4 separate regions of the Homo sapiens genome follow, and all the other regions are linked to region 3. The links are contacts of gene promoters, found by promoter capture Hi-C in blood cells and fetal thymus (Javierre and others, 2016). All regions are on one chromosome and are shown on one strand. The core of a region is centred on a gene start or on the middle of the fragment in contact, and the rest is flanking DNA. Distances in the headings are between cores, read along the strand shown.

Evidence for each region. Contacts are between HindIII fragments. The CHiCAGO score rates a contact against its expected background, and 5 or more counts as called.
Region 1: a fragment that was not itself captured here is called in contact with the fragment with the promoter of EIF4EBP3 in region 3 in 1 of 17 cell types (endothelial precursors); the score reaches 5.7 in endothelial precursors.
Region 2: a fragment that was not itself captured here is called in contact with the fragment with the promoter of EIF4EBP3 in region 3 in 1 of 17 cell types (naive CD4 T cells); the score reaches 5.1 in naive CD4 T cells.
Region 4: a contact is called between a fragment that was not itself captured here and the fragment with the promoter of EIF4EBP3 in region 3, in 16 of 17 cell types (total CD8 T cells, M2 macrophages, M1 macrophages and 13 more). The highest score is 9.0, in total CD8 T cells.

Annotation. Positions count from the first base shown.
Region 1 is chr5:140,389,337-140,394,216 of GRCh38, reverse strand. All of the region lies in intron 1 of ANKHD1-DT (ANKHD1 divergent transcript), which reads left to right. Among named protein-coding and RNA genes, the nearest start is that of ANKHD1-DT, 9.6 kb to the left of the region's middle. The HindIII fragment of the contact is 2,499 bases long and covers 1-2,499 here.
Region 2 is chr5:140,405,450-140,410,604 of GRCh38, reverse strand. The region is part of intron 1 of ANKHD1-EIF4EBP3 (ANKHD1-EIF4EBP3 readthrough); the gene reads right to left. The region is part of intron 1 of ANKHD1 (ankyrin repeat and KH domain containing 1); the gene reads right to left. Among named protein-coding and RNA genes, the nearest start is that of ANKHD1-EIF4EBP3, 6.2 kb to the right of the region's middle. RefSeq lists an enhancer at 3,464-3,964. The HindIII fragment of the contact is 1,362 bases long and covers 715-2,076 here.
Region 3 is chr5:140,545,188-140,550,143 of GRCh38, reverse strand. EIF4EBP3 (eukaryotic translation initiation factor 4E binding protein 3) reads right to left here and starts at 2,482. Exons shown (of 3, transcript NM_003732.3): 1 at 2,304-2,482; 2 at 1,068-1,238; 3 at 568-910. The coding sequence starts at 2,406. The coding sequence ends at 882. It overlaps ANKHD1-EIF4EBP3 (ANKHD1-EIF4EBP3 readthrough), which reads right to left. Exons shown (of 36, transcript NM_020690.6): 35 at 1,068-1,238; 36 at 568-910. The coding sequence ends at 907. It overlaps SRA1 (steroid receptor RNA activator 1), which reads left to right. Exons shown (of 5, transcript NM_001035235.4): 5 at 1-76. RefSeq lists enhancers at 1,412-2,119, 2,270-2,359, 2,120-2,826, 2,827-3,535. The HindIII fragment of the contact is 7,257 bases long and covers 1-4,956 here.
Region 4 is chr5:140,674,765-140,679,622 of GRCh38, reverse strand. HARS1 (histidyl-tRNA synthetase 1) reads left to right here. Exons shown (of 13, transcript NM_002109.6): 5 at 496-621; 6 at 1,608-1,715; 7 at 1,870-1,968; 8 at 2,203-2,296; 9 at 2,507-2,634; 10 at 2,727-2,969; 11 at 4,490-4,606; 12 at 4,798-4,858. Among named protein-coding and RNA genes, the nearest start is that of DND1, 3.6 kb to the right of the region's middle. RefSeq lists an enhancer at 1,319-1,568. The HindIII fragment of the contact is 4,458 bases long and covers 1-4,235 here.

The DNA.
Region 1 (4,880 bases), core at 1-2,500, 150 kb after region 3:
TAGCCAGGCATGGTGGTGGGTGCTATAATCCCAGCTACTTGGGAGGCTGAGGCAGGAGAATCGCTTGAACCTGGGAGGCAAGAGACTGCAGTGAGCCGAGATCACACCACTGCACTGCAGCCTGGGTGACAGAGCGAGACTCCATCTCAAAAAAAAACAAAACAAACAAAAAAAACCCAAAACAACAACAAAGCTAAACATGATGGATTTACTTTATGTGTTTGGTTTCAGACAGCAATGAGAAGAACTTCACCTAGGTAGAACATTACTTGCTGAGTCAGCCAGAAACCTCCAAACCTTCAACTGGACAGAAACACAGTTAGATTTACTGTAACTCTGTAACTGAAAACTTTTTTTTTTTTTGACAGGGTCTTGCTCCTGTTACCTAGGTTGGAGTAGTGCAGTGGTGCAGTCTCACTACAGCCTCAACCTCCCAGGCTCAAGCCACCCTCCCACCTCAACCTTCCAAGTAGCTGGAACTACAGGTGCACACCACCATGCCCAGCTTGTTTTGTTTTGTTTTGTTGTGTTTTTTTGTATTTTGGTAGAGACAGGGTTTTTGCCATGTTACCCAGGCTGCTCTCAAACTCCTGGGCTCAAGCGATCCACCTGCCTCAGTCTCCCAAAGTGCTGGGATTATAGATGTGAGCCACCACACCTGGCCCAAATTTTTAAAAGACATCAAGTTGTAGCTTTGCTTTTTGCAAAAGTTAAACATCTCTCTGCAGAAAGGTCATATTGGTTGACAATGAAGATTAATCCACTCTTCCCCCAGGTGAGTCCTTGGTGAATATTTTTGTGTATTGCTTCCATTGGAAGGATTGTACTGAAAATATGAGTCCCAGCAGTAATTCTATGAGCTTTCTCACTTCAGTACTAATTAAAAGGAAAAGCCGTCCAGCACAGTGGCTTACACCCATAATCCCAACACTTTGGGAGGCTGAGACAGGCGGATCACAAGGTCAGGAGTTCAAGACCAGCCTGGCCAACATGGAGAAACCCCGTCTCTACTAAAAATACAAAAATTAGCCGGGCGTGATGGCAGGTGCCCATAGTCCCAGCTATTCAAGAGGCTGAGGCAGAAGAATCGCTTGAACCTGGGAGGCAGAGGTTGCAGTGAGCCGAGATTGCACCAGTGCACTCCAGCCTGAGTGGCAGAGTGAGACTCCATCTAAAAAAAAAGGAAAAACCAAGAGTCACATTGAGAAATAAGTACCAGTAAGTGTGTAGTTCAGCCCAGATGTTCTGGTCTACAGTTATACAAGCTCTTTGACAAGAAGAGGGTTCTAAGAACTGACAATCAATAAGTTACTGGGAGAAATCCAGAACTCTACCTTGTGCATTACAGTGAACCCTCTGCTTCTTCTATCCCACACTTGGTAAACCTGAAGCTAGTGACCCCAAACATCCTTTTTCACATGTCCTCTTACCACTGCAACTTAGGCAGCCACACCCACCTTTTGTAGAAGCTCTCCTTGGCTGGTACCATGTCCTTCTGCCACAGACTTTAGAACATCCCAGAATTGGTGAAAATTTTGAATCTTATGGTCTGAGCACTTTTTCTGATGAGAGAACAGCTAGATAGCAACCGCAGCAGCAAGAATCCTCTTATTTTACAGGTTATGGTGGCCTGGCATTTAGTGAATCAGCACTTTTGAGTCAGAAGAACCCTTGAGGGGTGTTTTAGTTTTTCACAATCCCCCCGCCCCGCCTTTTTTTTTTTTTGAGATGGAGTTTCGCTCTTCTTGCCCAGGCTGGAGTCCAATGGGATGATCTCAACTCACTGCAACCTCCACCTCCCAAGTTCAAGCGATTCTCCTGCCTCAGCCTCCCAAGTAGCTGGGATTACAGGCGTGTGTCACCATGCCCAGCTAATTTTGTATTTTTAGTAGAGATGGGGTTTCACCATGTTGGCCAGGCTGGTCTTGAACTCCTGACCTCAGGTGATCCGCCCGCCTCGGCCTCCCAAAGTGCTGGGATTACAGGTGTGAGCCACCATGCCCAGCCTTACAATTTTTTTTAAATAGAGGAGTAACAAGGAGTGAGCATTAGGATCAGTATCTCCCAATAAAATCTCTGAAGTGATTTTACATGACCCATCCATTACCCTCTGATATTTCCTGTGAGAACCTGAAGTACATAATTGCTTACCACAATGAGAAAGGAGCAGACCAAGGACTCCAACTCAAAGAGCAATTTGGGCTTATAAGTGAGGACTGAGTCACTCTGAAGGCTGATCTTGGAGACTCTTGTGGAGTGTTTGAACTCAACTCAGTTTGCCACACCCCTTTTTCATCAAGACAGTCCCATAAATCAGGAGACACAGCATGGCATTCACCTGCAGGGCAGGTAACAGTGCCACCTACCAAGTGTTCTTTCCCAAGGAAGTGGCTATGGCCCCGAAAGGACACTTGTAGAAAGTCTAGGCCAGACATGAGTCTGATATAAGCTCACAGAAGCTATTAAGAAATATAGTGGTCAGGACTCTACTCTGAAGCTTTTCACCTAGAAGCCCTTCTTAGACCCTGGCATTTACACCTCTGATGTCAAGGGAAAAAAAAAGAAAAGAAAAACAGCCAAAGTTGGACTTCTCCAGCAGAGATTTAGTCAATGCAAAAGGTTCGTCAGTTGAAAAGAATTGCATCACCATTCAGAGTTATGCAGGACATATGGGCAGGCCTGTTGTGGCCTCTGGAGTTTGGTTAAAGCCCTAAACTGTCCCAATGGCTCCACCCATAAGCTGGCAACATTTTAAATCAAGATTGAGCCATACTAGAGAGTCCAAAGAAAACAGCAATACTTTTCTGTATACCAGGGATTTCAAATGAATATTAGAATTCCTGGAGAGTGACTGAAGGGCTCAGAAATATTTAAAAACCCTTCAAAGCACTGGTTGACCACTATTCAGAGCCTGGTAATCCTCATGCCCAACAATTACTCTCACAAGTTCCCTGTTGCACTCTCTGTATACCATTAGCAGTAGTGTAATTGATACAATCTTTAGGGAAATAAGTTTGGAGGTGCCTTCATTTTATTTTTTTGAAACAGAGTCTCTGTCGCCCAGGCTGGAGTACAGTGGTGTGATCTCAACTCACTGCAACCTCCGTCTTCTGGGTTCAAGCAATTCTTCTGCCTCAGCCTCCCAAGTAGCTGGGATTACAGACATATGCCACCACACTCGGCTAATTTTTGTATTTTTAGTAGAGATGGGGTTTCACCATGTTTGCCAGTCTGGCCTGGAAATTCTGACCTCAAGTGATCCACCCACCTCAGCCTCCCAAAGTGCTGGGTTTACAGGCGTGAGCCATGTGCCCGGTCCTTCTTTTTTTTTTTTTTTTTTTTTTTTAAGTGCAACTACCCTTTGATTTAGCAAATCCATTTCCAACTCTGGAGGAAAAGTGGCACAGAAACCCTCACACATTAACTAAAAAAAAAAAAAAAAAATGTGTACAGGGACATTAATTAAAACCTTACTTGTCAGGGCTAGGCACGGTGGCTCACTCCTATAATCCCAGCACTTTGGGAGACTGAGGCAGACGGATCATTTGAGGTCAGGAGTTCAAGACCAGCCTGGCCACATGGTGAAACCCTATCTCTACTTAAAAAAAAAAAAAAAAAAGCCAGACAGGGTGGCTCACACCTGTAATCCCAGCACTTTGGGAGGCCAAGATGGGTGGATCACTTGAGGTCAGGAGTTTGAGACCAGCCTGACCAACATGGCGAAACTTCGTCTCTACTAAAAAATACAAAAATTAGCCAGGCATGGTGGCAGATGCCTGTAATCCCAGCTACTCGGGAGGCTGAGGCAGGAGAATCGCTTGAACCTTGGAGCAAAGGTTGCAGTGAGCTGAGATCACACCGCTGCACTCCAACCTCGGTGACAGAGCGAGACTGTCTCAAAAAAAAAGAAAAAACATTAGCCAGGGGGTTGGTGCACACCTGTAGTCCCAGCTTCTCAGGAGACTGAGGCACGAGAATCACTTGAAGCTGGGAAACGGAGGTTGCAGTGTGCAAGATCATGCCACTGCACTCCAGCTTGGACAAAAGAGTGAGACTCTGTCTCAAAACAGACAAACCTTACTTGTCTATCAATAAGTGGCTAAGTAAGCTGCGGTACAGTTATAACATGACCTACAATATACTTGTTAAAAAGAATGAAGAGGCCAGGCACAGTGGCTCACGCCTGTAACCCCAGCACTTTGAGAGGCTGAGGTGGGCAGATCACGAGGTCAGGAGATTGAGACCATCCTGACCAACATGGTGAAACCCTGTCTCTACTAAAACACAAAAAATTAGCTGGCCGTGGTGGCTCGCGCCTGTAGTCCCAACTACTTGGAAGGCTGAGGCAGGGGAATAGCCTGAACCCAGGAGGCGGAGGATGCAATGAGCCAAAATCACGCCACTGCACTCCAGCCTGACGACAGAGCAAGACTCTATCTCAAAAAAAAAAAAAAAAGAAGAAAATCAGAAGGCTGATTGTGCATGGTACACTGCCAAGTGAGGGAAAAAGTGAAATTATTTCAGTTTTTTACTAGAAGTATATCATTTTATTTGTGCATATATTGTTTGAATTTGTTTACAATGAGTATGTAACACCTTGGTAACAAAACTATTTTCCAAAACCACCCCAGTTATTACCTTAAAACCAAACTTTAGAGAGTTAGTAGATTTTTTTTGTTTTTGAAAATCTTTATTGTTATTATTAGTGTGTTTATCCAACAAATTAAGAAGAAAAATAAAATTTAAAAAAGTTAGAATGTACTTTTTTGGGCAAAATCTAGGGAGTTACATTTAACTCAGAGAAATGTGAACTTAGGGAAGAAATATTTCACTTATACTTTGACATACACACACATACACGGGTATATTACCACAATTTT
Region 2 (5,155 bases), core at 146-2,645, 140 kb after region 3:
TTGATTTTATTTATTACAACTTTAGTTCTGAGAAAGTAAATTTGGCCAAAAAAAAAAATTTGGTAAACTTGTCATTTATTTTGTTTACTTGCCAATTCAAGGCTAAAACTGTTTAAAACTGTTTTGCTTTTCTTTAAAGTAACATATTTTATTTATATTAGTGATCACTGAATCAGAAGGCCAGAACTGATTTTGAATTCATCTAGTCAATCAGCACTCTACTAACAAATAGACTCAGAAAGGAATGTGCTTAAACTCACCTCCATCCTTCATTCATAACATAATTTATCACTTTAATTTTTTAAAAAAGTCTAAATCCTTCTCAAATTTACCATTTAAAAATTTCACATAAATAGCATCTTACCATCTGTGTAACAGTAGGGAAAATACACATAGTTGTATTTTCATAAAGAAATTCTGAAAGGCTATATAATACTTTTATTAAAAGTATAAAGAGCAAGATATGTGGGAGCAGGGTGAGATTGAGACTTCACTGTATCTGCCCTTATATTACTTTGACTTATGAACTATATGAATGTAATTATCTATTGAAAATATACTAATAACAACAAAAACCTCTCATACTTAAAGTTTCCCAAAAAGTTTTCCTCCACCCATACTAATCAACTCTGCATCAACCCCACCATTCACATAAATATACTTATCAATGCATCATTTTATATGTAAAGTCTTAAGGCTTTACATCATGAAGCTTGTGAAAGGTTGATATTTGTGCAACATACAAAAAATTGTGGCTGGGCGCGGTGGCTCACACCTGTAATCCCAGCACTTTGGGAGGCTGAGGCGGGTGGATCACAAGGTCAGGAGACCGAGACCATCCTGGGTAACACAGTGAAACACCGTCTCTACTAAAAATACAAAAAATTAGCCGAGCGTGGTGGCACGGGCCTGTAGTCCCAGCTACTCAGGAGGCTGAGGCAGGAGAATCACTTGAACCCAGGAGGTGGAGGCTGCAGTGAGCCGAGATCCTGCCACTGCACTCCAGCCTGGGTGACAGAGCAAGGCTCCTCTGACTCAAAAAAAAAAAAAAAAAATTGTTACAGTAATAACATATAATTCTTTTTATTCAATAAGCATTTCCAAAGTCTCCAAAATTAGCCCACTAGAATACAAAGTTATATTTCCTATGTTATCACTACAAATGATAATTTATGGAATAAAGCATTTCTACTTTGAACAAACTGGAAGTCCCCATAAAAGTTTTTTAAAAATTCATTTTCATGGACAACTGAACTTTTTGAAAAATAATATATTTTAAGTGAAAGTTCCCCAAAATGATACATTTACCATAGAAAATTTACAGCAGTGCATGCTAGTTTTATATTAAACCTTTCAGTACCTTCTATTTCTCCCTTGTTCAGGTTATAAGCATAAGTCCTGAAATGCTATTAAAAGCAGTGACTCACCTTGTTTACCTTAAGTTTGAATACAGAGTATAACAAAACTACCATTCCTGACAAGAGTGGCCTCTAGACCGGTAGCTCTCAACCAGGAGTGATTTTGTCCCTAGGAGACATTTGGCAACGTCTGAACAATTTTTGGCTATCATAATCGGGTTCTACTGGCATCTAGTGGGTAGAGGCCAGGGATGCTTCTAATGCACAGGAGAGCCCCTCACAACAAAGAATTCTCTGTCCCAAAATGTCTATATGTTGCTCTTGAGAAACTGCTCTAGATTATAGATCATACTAGCCAAGTATTGTGGTGCACACCTATAGTCCCCTGTAGTCCTGACTACTTGGGAGGCTGAAGCAGAAGGATTGCTTGAGCCCAGGAGTGGGAGACCACATAGAGTTATGACCATGCCACCGCACTGTGTAGCCAGGGCAACAGCCAGCCTGGGCAAAAAAGCGAGACCCCCATCTCTCAAAACACATAACGGTAAAAAAAATTTAATTAAAAATTAAAAAACAGATTATATATAGATCATAAACAATCTTAAAGGATATGACCCAACTCCTTACCTACTGGAGAAAATCAGGATGGGATTTCTGTATGACTTTTGCTTTTGATGTTAAAAGTAATTTTCAGGGAAAAAGGAATCCCTACAAAGCTTGTGCTATATTTTCAGAGCTAAATACAATTTCTGCGTGCTTTTATATAATTGTAAATACAGCACCTGCTTCAAGAAAAAAACCTCAGTGTGATATAAAGCTACACTTTTAAATTTGATATGCCTTTAAAGTATGTGTATATGAACATATATACATATATACATAGAAAGATAGGCCTAGAAAATTTACTGAATGAAAAATTTTAATATTGGTTACCTTGAAGGGTAGAATTTGAAGAATTAATGGGGGTGGGAAGAAGCACTTTTACTTTTCCCCTTATACCTACTATCTATATTGTTGAGTTTTTCAACAAGTAACTATTTTGTAATAATTTTATTATTTTCTAATTTTTTGAGATGGAGTCTTGCTCTGTTACCCAGACTGGAGTGCACTGGTATGATCTTGGCTGACTGCAGCCTCCGTCTCCCGGGTTCAAGAGATTCTCCTGCCTCAGCCTCCCAAGTGGCTAGGATTACAGGCGCCTGCCACCATACCCAGCTAATTTTTGTATTTTTAGTAGAGACAGGCTTTCACCATGTTGGCCAGGCTGGTCTCAAACTCCTGACCTCAGATGATCCATCCGCTTTGGCCTCCCAAAGTGGTGGGATTACAGGCGTGAGCCACCGCGCCCGGCCACTTTTGTAATAATTTTAAAAGAGGGCCGTCACACACACACATACACACACAAACACACATATACACACACATTCATTCTTACGACAAAAATTGAAAACCATGTCTCACACAATCTTTTCTTTAGAAACTGTATTTTTATTTCGATTTGCTAAAAAAATTAAAAGACCACAATTCTAAAATTAAAATTTAAAAATTGGTTTTTCGGTCAGGCACAGTGGCTTACAACTTGTAATCTCTGCATTTTTGGAGGCCCAGGCAGAAGGATCCCTTGAGGCCAGGAGTTCAAGACTAGCCTGGGCAACATTTTTTTTTTTTTAAATCAGGTGGAGTGGTGGAGTACACCTCTAGTTAGACCTAGCTCTTTGGGAGGCTGAGGCAGTAGGATTGCTTGAGCCCAGGAATTCGAGGTTGCAGTGAACTATGATCATGCCACTGCATTCCAGCCTGGGTGACAGAGCAAAAGCCCATCTCTAAAAATAAATAAATAAATAAAAATAGGCTGGGTGTGGTGGCTCACACCTGTAATCCTAATCTCAAAATAAATAAATAAAAATTTAAAATAAAAACCATTTTTTAAAGTGGTTTTTTTTTTTTTTTTGGAGATGGAGTCTCACTCTGTCACCCAGGCTGGAGTGCAGTGACGCGATCTCAGCTCACTGCGACTTCTGCCTCCCAGGTTCAAGCAATTCTCCTGCCTCAGCCTCCTGAGTAGGCTGAGATTGCAGGTGCGTGCCACCACGCCCACCTAATTTTTGTTTTTTAGTAGAGATGGGGTTTCACCATGTTGGTCTGGCTGGTCTCAAACTCCTGATCTTGTGACCCACCCACCTCGGCCTCCCAAAGTGCTGGGATTACAGGCGTTAGCCACCGCACCAGGCCTAAAGTGGTTTTTAAGAAATTTTTAACCTAACTTCTATTCTGAACATGGATACATTTCTTAATAGGATTCAATGCAGTGCTAGCTCTTCTAATCAAGGGCTTCGATAGCTAAGAAACATGCTAAGAATGCCTGAAGAAATACGAAGCAGGTATTTACCCCAATGTTTAAAATAACAAAAGGGCCAGGTGGGTGACTCACGGCTGTAATCCCAGCACTTTGGGAGACCTAGGCGAGCAGATCACCTGAGGTCAGGAGTTCGAGACCAGCCTGGCCAATATGGTGAAACCCCCATTTCTGCTAAAGATAGAAAAATTAGCCAGGCATGGTGGCACGCACTTGTAATCTCACTACTGAGGCAGGAGAATCACTTGAATGCAGGAAGCAGAGGTTGCAGTGAGCTAAGATCGTGCCAGCCTGGGCGACAAGACTCCATCTCAAAAAAAAAAAAAAAATGTACTGAAAGATGTGAGTCCATTCCTCTAACCAAAAGGTCTTTTGCTTGGCCAGCAAGAAAGAGTAGCTTGTTTTTTCTCAGCTCTTGGCTCTGATATTAAATATAAAGAGGTCCTTAGAGGGTCTACTCCTCTGTACACAAAATGTAGAAGACCAACTAATTCTAGAGCAAAAATACTAGGGCTCCACATTTCTTATTTCTCACCTAATCCTGCCCCATTAGAGCAACAAGACAAACTTCACTCCCAAACTACACACCAATTCATCATCTTTTTGGATGTCTAGGTACTTGTTTCTAAAATAATTTATTTTTTTTTTTTTTTGAGACAGAGTCTCTCTCTGTCACCCTGCCTGGAGGGCAGTGGCGTGATCTCGGCTCACTGCAACCTCTGCCTCCTGGGTTCAAGCGATTCTCCTCCCTCAGCCTCCTGAGTAACTCAGATTACAGGCGCCCTCCACCAAGCCCGGCTAATTTTTTGTTTTAATAGAGACAGAATTTTGCCATGTTGGCCAGGCTGGTCTCTAACTCCTGACCTCAGCTGATCCACCCGCCTTGGCCTCCCAAAGTGCTGTGATTACAGGCGTGAGCCACCATGCCCGGTGGTTATAAATATTTAGGAAAAATGAAGGCCAGGCATGGTGGCTCACACCTGTAATCCCAACACTTTGGGAGACCAAGGTGGGAGAATCACTTGAGGCCAGAAGTTTGAGACCAGCCTGGCCAACGTGACAAAACGCTGTCTCTACCAAAAATATAAAAATTACCTGGGAGTGGTGGTGGATATCTGTAATCCCAGCTACTCAGGAGGGTGAGACAGAAGAATCGCTTGAACCCAGGAGGCGGAGGTTGCAGTGAGCCAAGATCGTGCCACTGCACTCCAGCCTGGGTGACAGAATGAGACCCTGTCTCAAAAAAATAAATAAAAATAAACAAAATATTTAGGAAAGATGAGACGGAGGATTTTAGTATTATTCATCAAATGCCAATTACATGAGTATTTTTTGAAGAACACTGTTACCTTTTCACACTGAAAATTCAAAGGCAATAATAATAAAAGAAGACAGCTCATCTTGTCAGACAGAAAAAGAAAAGGGAAAATTTTTGCTTGGC
Region 3 (4,956 bases), core at 1,233-3,732:
AAATCGAAGGAGAAAAAGACCAGATTACTGAGATTGGGGATTGTAACTCTGACTTGCCAAACAAACTGCTGCCTCATTTTGGGTTTCAGTGTGAACTCTAAGGTCTCTTGTAACCCTTTGAGAGAGGTACTTGGTGGACTATCATGCTGTGAGAAGGGTACAAGGTTTTTGGTGTTGGAATAGAGGAACTGGTGCTTAGAGGTGGGAAGCAGAAAAGGCACAGGGAGAGACAGGATGGCTATAGGCTGGGACAGCACCTCTTTTCCAAGAGTCCTGCTTTGGAATGGATAGGGGAGGGGCTGCTGGGGGGCCCTGGTTCCAGGAAGGCTGCTTCCTGGGAAGACAGGAACAGCCCTTGGCAGTGGCCAAGCTATTGCTGTTTATGGTTTGGAGGCTCATGTAACCTGCCACTGTAGCGTGCCTCAGGTTCTAATTGCTGCTGGAAGTGGGCCTGGTGGGAGCTGGGAATGATCTGAGGCCTCTGAGCTTAACCAGGCCTGCCAGGGCCTTCAGCTGTGTGGCTGAGATGAGAAAATCAGCATTGAGGAGAACACTGGAGCCAAGGCATTTCTTTGAATGTTTACTAAGCAGTCAGAAGGTGACTTACTCCATTCCCCAGTTCCAGCCCCTGAGCATAGAGGGTTTAGGGTTAGGAGGAGTACCACAGACTGAAGAGGAAGTAGAGTTAAGGGCTTGGCAAGTTGCCCACTCCTATCCCTGGTCTAGCTGCCTCAGAACTAAAGGAGGCCTGGAACTAACAAGTCACTCCCTTCCAGATTAGATGAGGCCAGCTGGCCTTTGGATGCCCCAGGAAGAGGTGGTGGCAGCAGTGGCATGAGGGATCCCTCTGTAACTCCACATGCCAGGTCATCTGCACTGGATTAGATGTCCATTTCAAATTGTGCGTCATCTGGAGAGAGAAAAGGCAGGAAGACAGGTTGCTGGTCTGAGGATCTGCAGGCTCAGCATCAGTGCAGAAACCCCTCTTGGAACTGAACCCCCGCACTGTGTCACAGTGGCATTTGAACTCAAAGGCTGGGACAATTCTTAATTCCTGCTTTCCTTACCGGGTATCTCTTCCTCTGTCTCCTGCTCCTTCAGCTCCTCCAGCTTGGAGAGAGGGGCTGTTGGAGGAGTTGTGACCCCGGGAATCTGAGGGAGGCAGCAGGGGGGTGTCCGGGCAATGGGTGAGTTCTTGCACTCCAGCAGGAACTTTCGGTCGTAGATGATCCTGGTGCCTGTCAAGGGGTTGGGACTGAGGTAAGAGTCAGGAGCTTGGGTACCGAGGTGACTGGGGTCCCAGACTCAGGCCTTTTGGGGCCTGGAGGTGAGGGTGGTGTCAAATTTCCCTGTGTATCAAAGGACATCGGCTCTGAAGCCCAGCTAGGTTCTCAGCAGACAAGCCTTCATAGTGCTTAAAATCTTCCAGACCTAACCAAGATGTGGGTATAAAGCAAGGGGGGCATCCCAGCTGGTATAGGCAGGGGCTTTATGTTTGGGAGAGCTTCAGATCTTGGCTCTAAGAGGAACACCAAACTTTGAGTTCAGGTACTTCATGCTGCTCCTCTACCACTCTGAAACCTCTGCTTTGGTCTCACCAGTGAAGGTGAGACCTAGACTAACAGCCTCAGGTGGTTCAAGAAGTGAAATAGCAGTTGTGAAGGGTTCCACCCAGTGCTGTTACCTGGGCTATCTCCTGCAGGGAGGAGAAACGTACTGTTCTAATCCTGACCCCTCCCAGGTCCTATAAGGTTCACACTAGCTCAGAGGAACTTGGCCCGCATAATGTCCTCAAAGGGTCCTGCCCTGTTCCTCCCCTCCGCTTCCGCGTGGCAGGAATCCCTGGGTCGGGAGCCCAGCAGCTCGTGATCCCAGGCTGCTCGCCCAACCAAACAGACGCCAGCCAGCAGCACAAAAACGGAGCAACTGCCCCAACTGTTCTAACTACTCCACTTCTCAAGACCCGGTGCTTCCGGCTGAGGTCACGCTCAGTAGGGGGCCCTGGCCCCTATTCCTAGGAAGCAAAGTCGCGAGGGGTAAGGAGCGTGTGTAAGGCTCCAAGAACCCAGGCCACAGTGAAGGATTACAGCCCAAACACCCGGAAGCTAGGCTCATGGCCTTGTTGCATCACTTAGAAGTTTTTGGGAACTGAGCTTCCGCTCCAAACATTCTCCCCCAAAGCTACAACCTGTAGAGGGGCCTGCGGACAAGTCTTAGGTCTGTCCCTCCCCTACCCCCGCCCCGCAACAACACGCACGCGCTAATATGTCCGCAGCCTGCGGACCCCTGCCCGGCCCGCTGACCTCCGGGGGTAGTGGCGTATAGCGTGCCCCCCGGCGTGGTGCTGTAGCAGTCGGGCAGCTGGTCCCGGCCCCCGGGAATCGGGCAGCTAGTGGACGTTGACATAGCGAGCGGGAGGAGCAGCAAAGTAACCGCCTGGCGTTGAGGTCGAGGAGCGCAGCTCTGAGTCTGAGGCGGACTCAGCCGACCACGTGCAGCTGCTGGCAACAACACTAGAACAACGTCACGCCCAGGGCGGGCCACCGGCCGTCACTCAACCCGACGGTCCCGCCCTATCTGCTAGGAAGCCAGCCCGGTTCAGAGAAAGCTGGAAATGCGTCCAAAGTCCCAGGCCCCACACCAGCTTCCAGTTCCTGCTGGCCCAGCGCTGGCCAACCTGCCTGAGTGCTGCAGCAGCTCAGCTATTTACTGTTTATAGCCGGGAGCTGGGGGCAGGTGAAGTAGGGCAAGCGTTTTTATCCTGTATTAGTTCACCCATTCCTTGCCAACTTTTGGATAGTAAAGCACTATGATTAGCCAAAGTCACACATCTTGCAGGAAGGGAAGCTGGGATTCAAATCTGACTGCATCTGATTCCAGGACTGTGCCCTTAAGCCCAGCTGTGTACTGCCTCCCATAAACAGTAACAGTACAAGGCCGGGTGCGGTGGCTCACGGCCTGTAATCCCAGCACTTTGGGAGGCTAAGGCGGGTGGATAGCTTGAGCCCAGGAGTCTGAGACCAGCCTGGGCAACATGGTGAAACCTAGACTCTACTAAAAATACAAAAATTAGCCGGGTGCGGCAGCATGCGCCTGTAGACCCAGCTACTCGGGAAGCTGAGGTGGAAGGATAGGTTGAACCCAGGAGGCGGAGGTTGCAGTGAGCGGAGATTGCACCACTGCACTCCAGCCTGGGTGACACATGCCTTGATGGCCTGGAGCACAGCAGGAAGGGGAAGGTCAGTGAGGGCTGGTCATCTTTCTGAAGAAGTGGTACCTGGACTAATAAAAGGATGAGTCAAGTTTGGGGGCTACAGCTGAGGCATCACCAGTCAGAAGGCCTGCCCTTTGATCTCTTTGCCAGTTAACTAAGGAGGGGCAGGGGGCTAGTGAGGAGGGCTTGGTCTTTAGAAGGAAAGAAAGGTCAGAGAGTTTGGCCTTGGAGTTTTTTTTTTGTTTTTTTTTTTTATGTAGACACAGTGATATGACAGGCTGGAGCAAGGTGGTGGGATTGGTGAAGATGTATATATGCTGGAAATCTTGAATTCATCAGGCTGTCCTGTTTGGCTTCCTCAAAATCAATACTGCCTCCACTGTCCCTTCCCCTCACCAAAAATTAAGTATAGACCACCTGACTGCATCCATTTATCAATATTAACTCAGCTCTGGCTTCATCAGATTTCTCCTTAGGTCTGATTTCTTCACTCATTTAAAAAAAGATTGCTTCTCAAACTATTTATTTTCTGAGATAGGGTTTTGCTCTGCTGCCTAGGCTGGAATGCAGTGGTGTAATCTCAGCTCAATGCAAACTCTGCCTCCTGGGTTCAGGCCATCCTCCCACCTCAGCCTCCTGAGTAGCTGGGACCACAGGTGCCCACCACCACACCGGGCTAATTTTTGGATTTTTTATAGAGACAAGGTTTCACCATGTTGCCCAGGCTGGTCTCGAATTCCTGAGCTCAAGTAACCTATCTGCCTCGGCCTCCCAAAGTGCTGGTGTGAGCCACCACACCTGGCCAGCTTCTCAAACTTTAATGTGCATATAAATCATCTGGAGATATTGTTAAAATGATAATTCTGATACAGTATTGGTCTGGGTGAGATTTTGGATTTTTTTTTTTTTTTGACACAGGGTCTCACTGTCACCCAAGCTGGAGTGTAGTGGTACAATCATGGCTCACTGCAGCCTCAACCTCCTGGGCTCAGGTGACCCTCCCACTTCAGTGTCCTCAATAGCTGGGACCACAGGTGCATGCCACTGTACCTGGCTAATTTTTAAATTTTTTGTAAAGGCGGGGTCTCACTATGTTGCCCAGGCTGGTCTCAAACTTGTGGGCCCAAGCGATCCTCCCAAACAGGCATCCTCCGAAACAAGAATTACAGGCATGAGCCACCGTGCCCAGCCAGTTGTGGATTTTTTTTTTTTTTTTTTGAGATGGAGTTTCGCTCTTGCCGCCCAAATGGCATGATCTTGGCTCACCGCAACCTCCGATTCCCGGGTTTAAGCGATTCTCCTGCCTCAGCCTCCTGAGTAGTTGGGATTACAGGCATGTACCACCACACCCAGCTAATTTTGTAATTTTAGTAGAAACAGAGTTTCTCCATGTTGGTCAGGCTGGTCTTGAACTCCCGACCTCAGGTGATCAGCCTGCCTCGGCCTCCCAAAGTGCTACGATTACAGGCATAAGCCACCACACCTGGCTGGTTTTTTTTTTTTTTTAAGATGGAGTCTTGCTCTGTCACCCAGGCTAGAGTTCAGTGGCATGATCTCAGCTCACTGCAACCTCTGCCTCCTGGGTTCAAGCGATTCTCCTGCCTCAGCCTCCTGAGTAGCTGGAATTACAGGAACCCACCACCGCACCGGGCTAATTTTTTGTATTTTTAGCAGACATCAGGTTTCACTATCTTGGCCAAGCTGGTCTCGAACTCCTGATCTCCAGTGATCTGCCTGGCTTG
Region 4 (4,858 bases), core at 757-3,256, 130 kb before region 3:
TCCTTAGAAATCTTCTGAATCCTGAGTGAGACCTCAGCTTGATGTCAGGGCCCAGTTCCAACTCTACAGTCATCCCCTGGCTCCAGAATACCTCTCCCCTGCCCTGTCCAGTGAACAAAATTCTTCTTAATGGACTAGCAACACATTTCCCTTGTCTCCAAGCTACACAGAGAATCATCTGCTTAGAAATCCCATATGGGGGCCTTTTTCTGGTCGCCTTTTTCTGGTCTGTGGCCAACCTGCCCAGCCCCTTGCCATGCTCAAAAAAGTCCAGTCAACACTACAAAAGGGAAAGGTGCCTTAATCTTTTTTGAGCCTTCAGCTACCTCATGTGGTAGCACAGCTGATGCTTTCTGATGTTTGTAAGTGCTATTAATCTTATGGGTGGCAGTTTTACCCACATAGGGAGGGGTTAGACCCCAGCTTCTGTTGGTGATGATAATCAACTTGCAGACAGTGATAGGAGGGGCTTTCTCCTTAACTCTTTGTCATCAGGTTCCTTTTGCTCGGTATTTGGCAATGAATAAACTGACCAACATTAAACGCTACCACATAGCAAAGGTATATCGGCGGGATAACCCAGCCATGACCCGTGGCCGATACCGGGAATTCTACCAGTGTGTGAGTGTTGGGAAACCGTGGGGCAGGATGAGTTACTTGGGGCTCTCTCAAGCCAGCAGAATCTATTGAGTACTCACGGTGTCCTGAGCAAATTGGATGACCCAGATAATGCTCTTAGGGTTTCTATGGTGGTTTTTTTGTTTGTTTTTTGTTTTTTTGAGACGGAGTCTCGCTCTGTTGCCCAAGCTGGAGTGCAGTGGTGCAGTCTTGGCTCACTGCAACCTCTGCCTCCTGGGTTCAAACGATTCTTCTGCCTCAGCCACCTGAGTAGCTGGGATTACAGGCGCCTGCCACTATGCCCGGCTAATTTTTTGTATTTTTAGTAGAGACGGGGTTTTACCATGTTGGCCAGGCTGGTCTCGAACTCCTGGTCTCATGATCCGCCTGCCTCGGCCTCCCAAAGTGCTGGGATTACAGGCGTGAGCCACCGCACCCAGCCTCTTCTATGGTGTTTTCATGCAGATTTCACAAAATCCCTGTGGTGGGGGAGGAGAATAAAGTCTCTTCATTTTACATATGAGTAAACTTGATACCCAGCCCATGAAGAGATCATAGGGATAAGAAAGGCAAAGTCAGGACTAGAACTCTTGGTCCAGTGCTCTTTATTTTAAACCACAGTGATAGGATCACAGCAGAGAATAAGGAAATTAGCTTTGATACATCAAATCATCCAGACTGATGCCAGGGCTTCTGGATGAATAGGGAAAATGGCTAAGCACTAAAGCCATATAATCACCCCATCCAGTAGGAGGAGTTAAGAAGATGATGAAGTAGAAAATGAAGGAATAGCCCAGTAGATGGAAAGGAAACCAAAACTGGTGAGAAGCCCAAAGATGCCGGGGTTTACCTCTGGGCTGATGATCAGAAAATGAAAGAGAAATTCTATGCTTGAGTGCAACCAGGCCTTCCTAGAGGACAGAGCTCCCAGAGTCCCCCCTTCAGAAAGGTGAATCCCTGAAGACCGCTGGCTAACCCTCTCCCTGCAGGATTTTGACATTGCTGGGAACTTTGATCCCATGATCCCTGATGCAGAGTGCCTGAAGATCATGTGCGAGATCCTGAGTTCACTTCAGATAGGCGACTTCCTGGTCAAGGTCAGAGCTGACAAGGCTGGGAGGGCAAAGTTGGGCCTGGCCTCTCACAAGAGAAGATCCTTGTGCAGAGGGACCAGTAGCCTAAGTGACCATGACTATTGCAGGTCATGTAAGAAAAGAGATTCCCCCCTCACTATGCATTGGTTCCTTGCAGGTAAACGATCGACGCATTCTAGATGGGATGTTTGCTATCTGTGGTGTTTCTGACAGCAAGTTCCGTACCATCTGCTCCTCAGTAGACAAGCTGGACAAGGTAACAACCCAAGTACTTGACTTCTTTTCCCAGATCCCACCCTGCCTTGGGAAATGGAAAACAAGATTGAGAGAGAGAGAGGTGCATGCCTCTATACCCACCAGAGGAAGGTTAGCCCCAGGATGTAGGCTCATGGGCAGCTACTGCTCTAAAACGGTTCCCCGAGGACAGTACACACTTGCTCTGTGGTGCGGAAGCTGCCCAGGGGTCCCTGACTGGTGTCTGTCTGCCTAGGTGTCCTGGGAAGAGGTGAAGAATGAGATGGTGGGAGAGAAGGGCCTTGCACCTGAGGTGGCTGACCGCATTGGGGACTATGTCCAGCAACATGGTGAGGAACAGAACCAAGCCTCCCCAGCAGCCGTCCCACTGCCCTCAGTCCTAAAGTTGAAACTGTTCTGTGTTATGTATGTAGGGGAGTGAGTGTGTCTATGCATATGTACACACACATGCATGGGCGACTAGAGTCCAGGCAAGAAGGTCAACCCTCCTTACCTTTTTTGTTTCCTTGTCAGCCTCACTCACAAGTCTGTCTCCCCAGGTGGGGTATCCCTGGTGGAACAGCTGCTCCAGGATCCTAAACTATCCCAAAACAAGCAGGCCTTGGAGGGCCTGGGAGACCTGAAGTTGCTCTTTGAGTACCTGACCCTATTTGGCATTGATGACAAAGTGAGTCAAGTTGGGGACGGGATCCCTTCTGAGCTCTGGGGCTTCAGGTCCCTGATCTTAATCTGGCACTGACCATTTTCTTATCTCCACAGATCTCCTTTGACCTGAGCCTTGCTCGAGGGCTGGATTACTACACTGGGGTGATCTATGAGGCAGTGCTGCTACAGACCCCAGCCCAGGCAGGGGAAGAGCCCCTGGGTGTGGGCAGTGTGGCTGCTGGAGGACGCTATGATGGGCTAGTGGGCATGTTCGACCCCAAAGGGCGCAAGGTGCCATGTGTGGGGCTCAGCATTGGGGTGGAGCGGATTTTCTCCATCGTGGAACAGAGACTAGAGGTAGGTCCTAGGAGGTAGGTAGAAGATAGTCTGAGCAGGTGGTGGCACCTAAGCTATCTGATCTCCAAGGGAGCAAGTGGTGCTGCTTTGGGCAGGGAGCATCTCACAGAAATGGAGAAAAGATTATTGCTCTTTTTCACAGATTTCTACCCCATTATATGTAAGTTTTATGGATCTTTAATCCATAATCTTTCTGCACTCAATCCTCTGCTCTGGGTCTCTACTTCCTTCAGGGCTGTCACAAACCTGGGCTGGTGTATCCAAGACTTAGATCTTCCTCATGATACGGAATACTTAACATTTTACTGCCTTGTGCCAGGCACTGTGCTTGGTGCTTTTCATGCATTATCAAAATATAATTGTTACTACAGCCCTGTGAGAGTAGCTAATTTTATTAATTGCATTTTCCAGATGAGAACACTGAAGCATTATAGATCAAATAATTTGCTTAAGGCCATGAAACTTGTAAGTGGTAGGGTCAGAATTTGAATCCAGGCAGTCTGACTCCAAAGTCTTGCCACTAACCACACTGCAATACTGTCTCTAAATGGGAAGCATGTGTCTGAGGCCCTGGGATCCCTCAGATGGCTACCGTGACTCTCTAGCACCTAGAGTAACACCAAGGAAGCCTCTTGTAGCCTCAAGCCCTCCTTTGTTGCTGCTGGTCTTAAGTGGCTGGTTGCATTTCATCTTCTGGGAAATGCTCTGGCAACCTCCCCACAGTCCTATGCCTTTTCTCTAGGGTGGAAACCACCCATTTCCCAGTTGAGATCATTTTTCCAGTAGGCATCTTACATTCTAAGAACTATGAAAATAGTTTTCCTGAAAAAGACAAGGGAAGCAGCAGCAGCATTCTCCTTTCCCCACACCCATATACACGCCTGTGCCCTGTAACTGAAGTGTGAGAGGCACAGTGTCATAAATGGGTAGATAGTAAGTGGGGACTAAAACTGTCAAGGGTGATCTAATTGGGGTGGGCTCATAGTAGTACTTCTGTGTGAATGCTTTGGTGGACCCTTAAGGTACTACATGGACCAGCCTGGGCAACATGATGAGACCCTGTCTCTACAGATTAAAAAAAAAAATTTTTTTTTTTTTTTAAATTAGCTGAGTATGGTGGTGTGTGCCTGTAGTCAGGAGGCTGAGGTGGGAGGATCACTTGAGCTTGGGAGGTCGAAGCTGCAGTGATCACACCACGGCACTTCAGCCTGGATGACAGAGACCCTGTCTCAAAAAAAAAAAAAAGGTACTACATGGAGATAAGCTTGAAGTTACTGTAAAAAAGCTACCTTTACTCTTGCCCTAAGTTATTTATTCTGATACGTCCTATGTACAAGTCAGTCAGTTCAGTCCTCATATCTACTAAAAGCTACCTTTATGCCCAAGGTGCTAGATGAGAAGACAGGGCCCCTGCCCTGGTAGAGCTGAGTTGGGCCTGGTCTCAAAATCCCGACTAGAGCCTGCTTTGTTTGCTCCTTGAAGGTGTTAGCCCAGCTCTCTTTTATCTGCCCCTTCCCCAGGCTTTGGAGGAGAAGATACGGACCACGGAGACACAGGTGCTTGTGGCATCTGCACAGAAGAAGCTGCTAGAGGAAAGACTAAAGCTTGTCTCAGAACTGTGGGATGCTGGGATCAAGGTATGGGAGGCAAGCCCCAGGGTGGCAGCAAACTTAGGTGTGCTGGACACAAACTGAATAAAAGCTCACCCATAATGGATCCTGCCATTACTTCTCAAAAGTAGAGCTAAGAACAGGGTGCCAGCTTGGACACCCTCTGTCCCTGAGGACAGCAGAAGCCAGCCTTCATCTTCTGCTCTTGTCCCCTGCAGGCTGAGCTGCTGTACAAGAAGAACCCAAAGCTACTGAACCAGTTACAGTACTGTGAGGAGG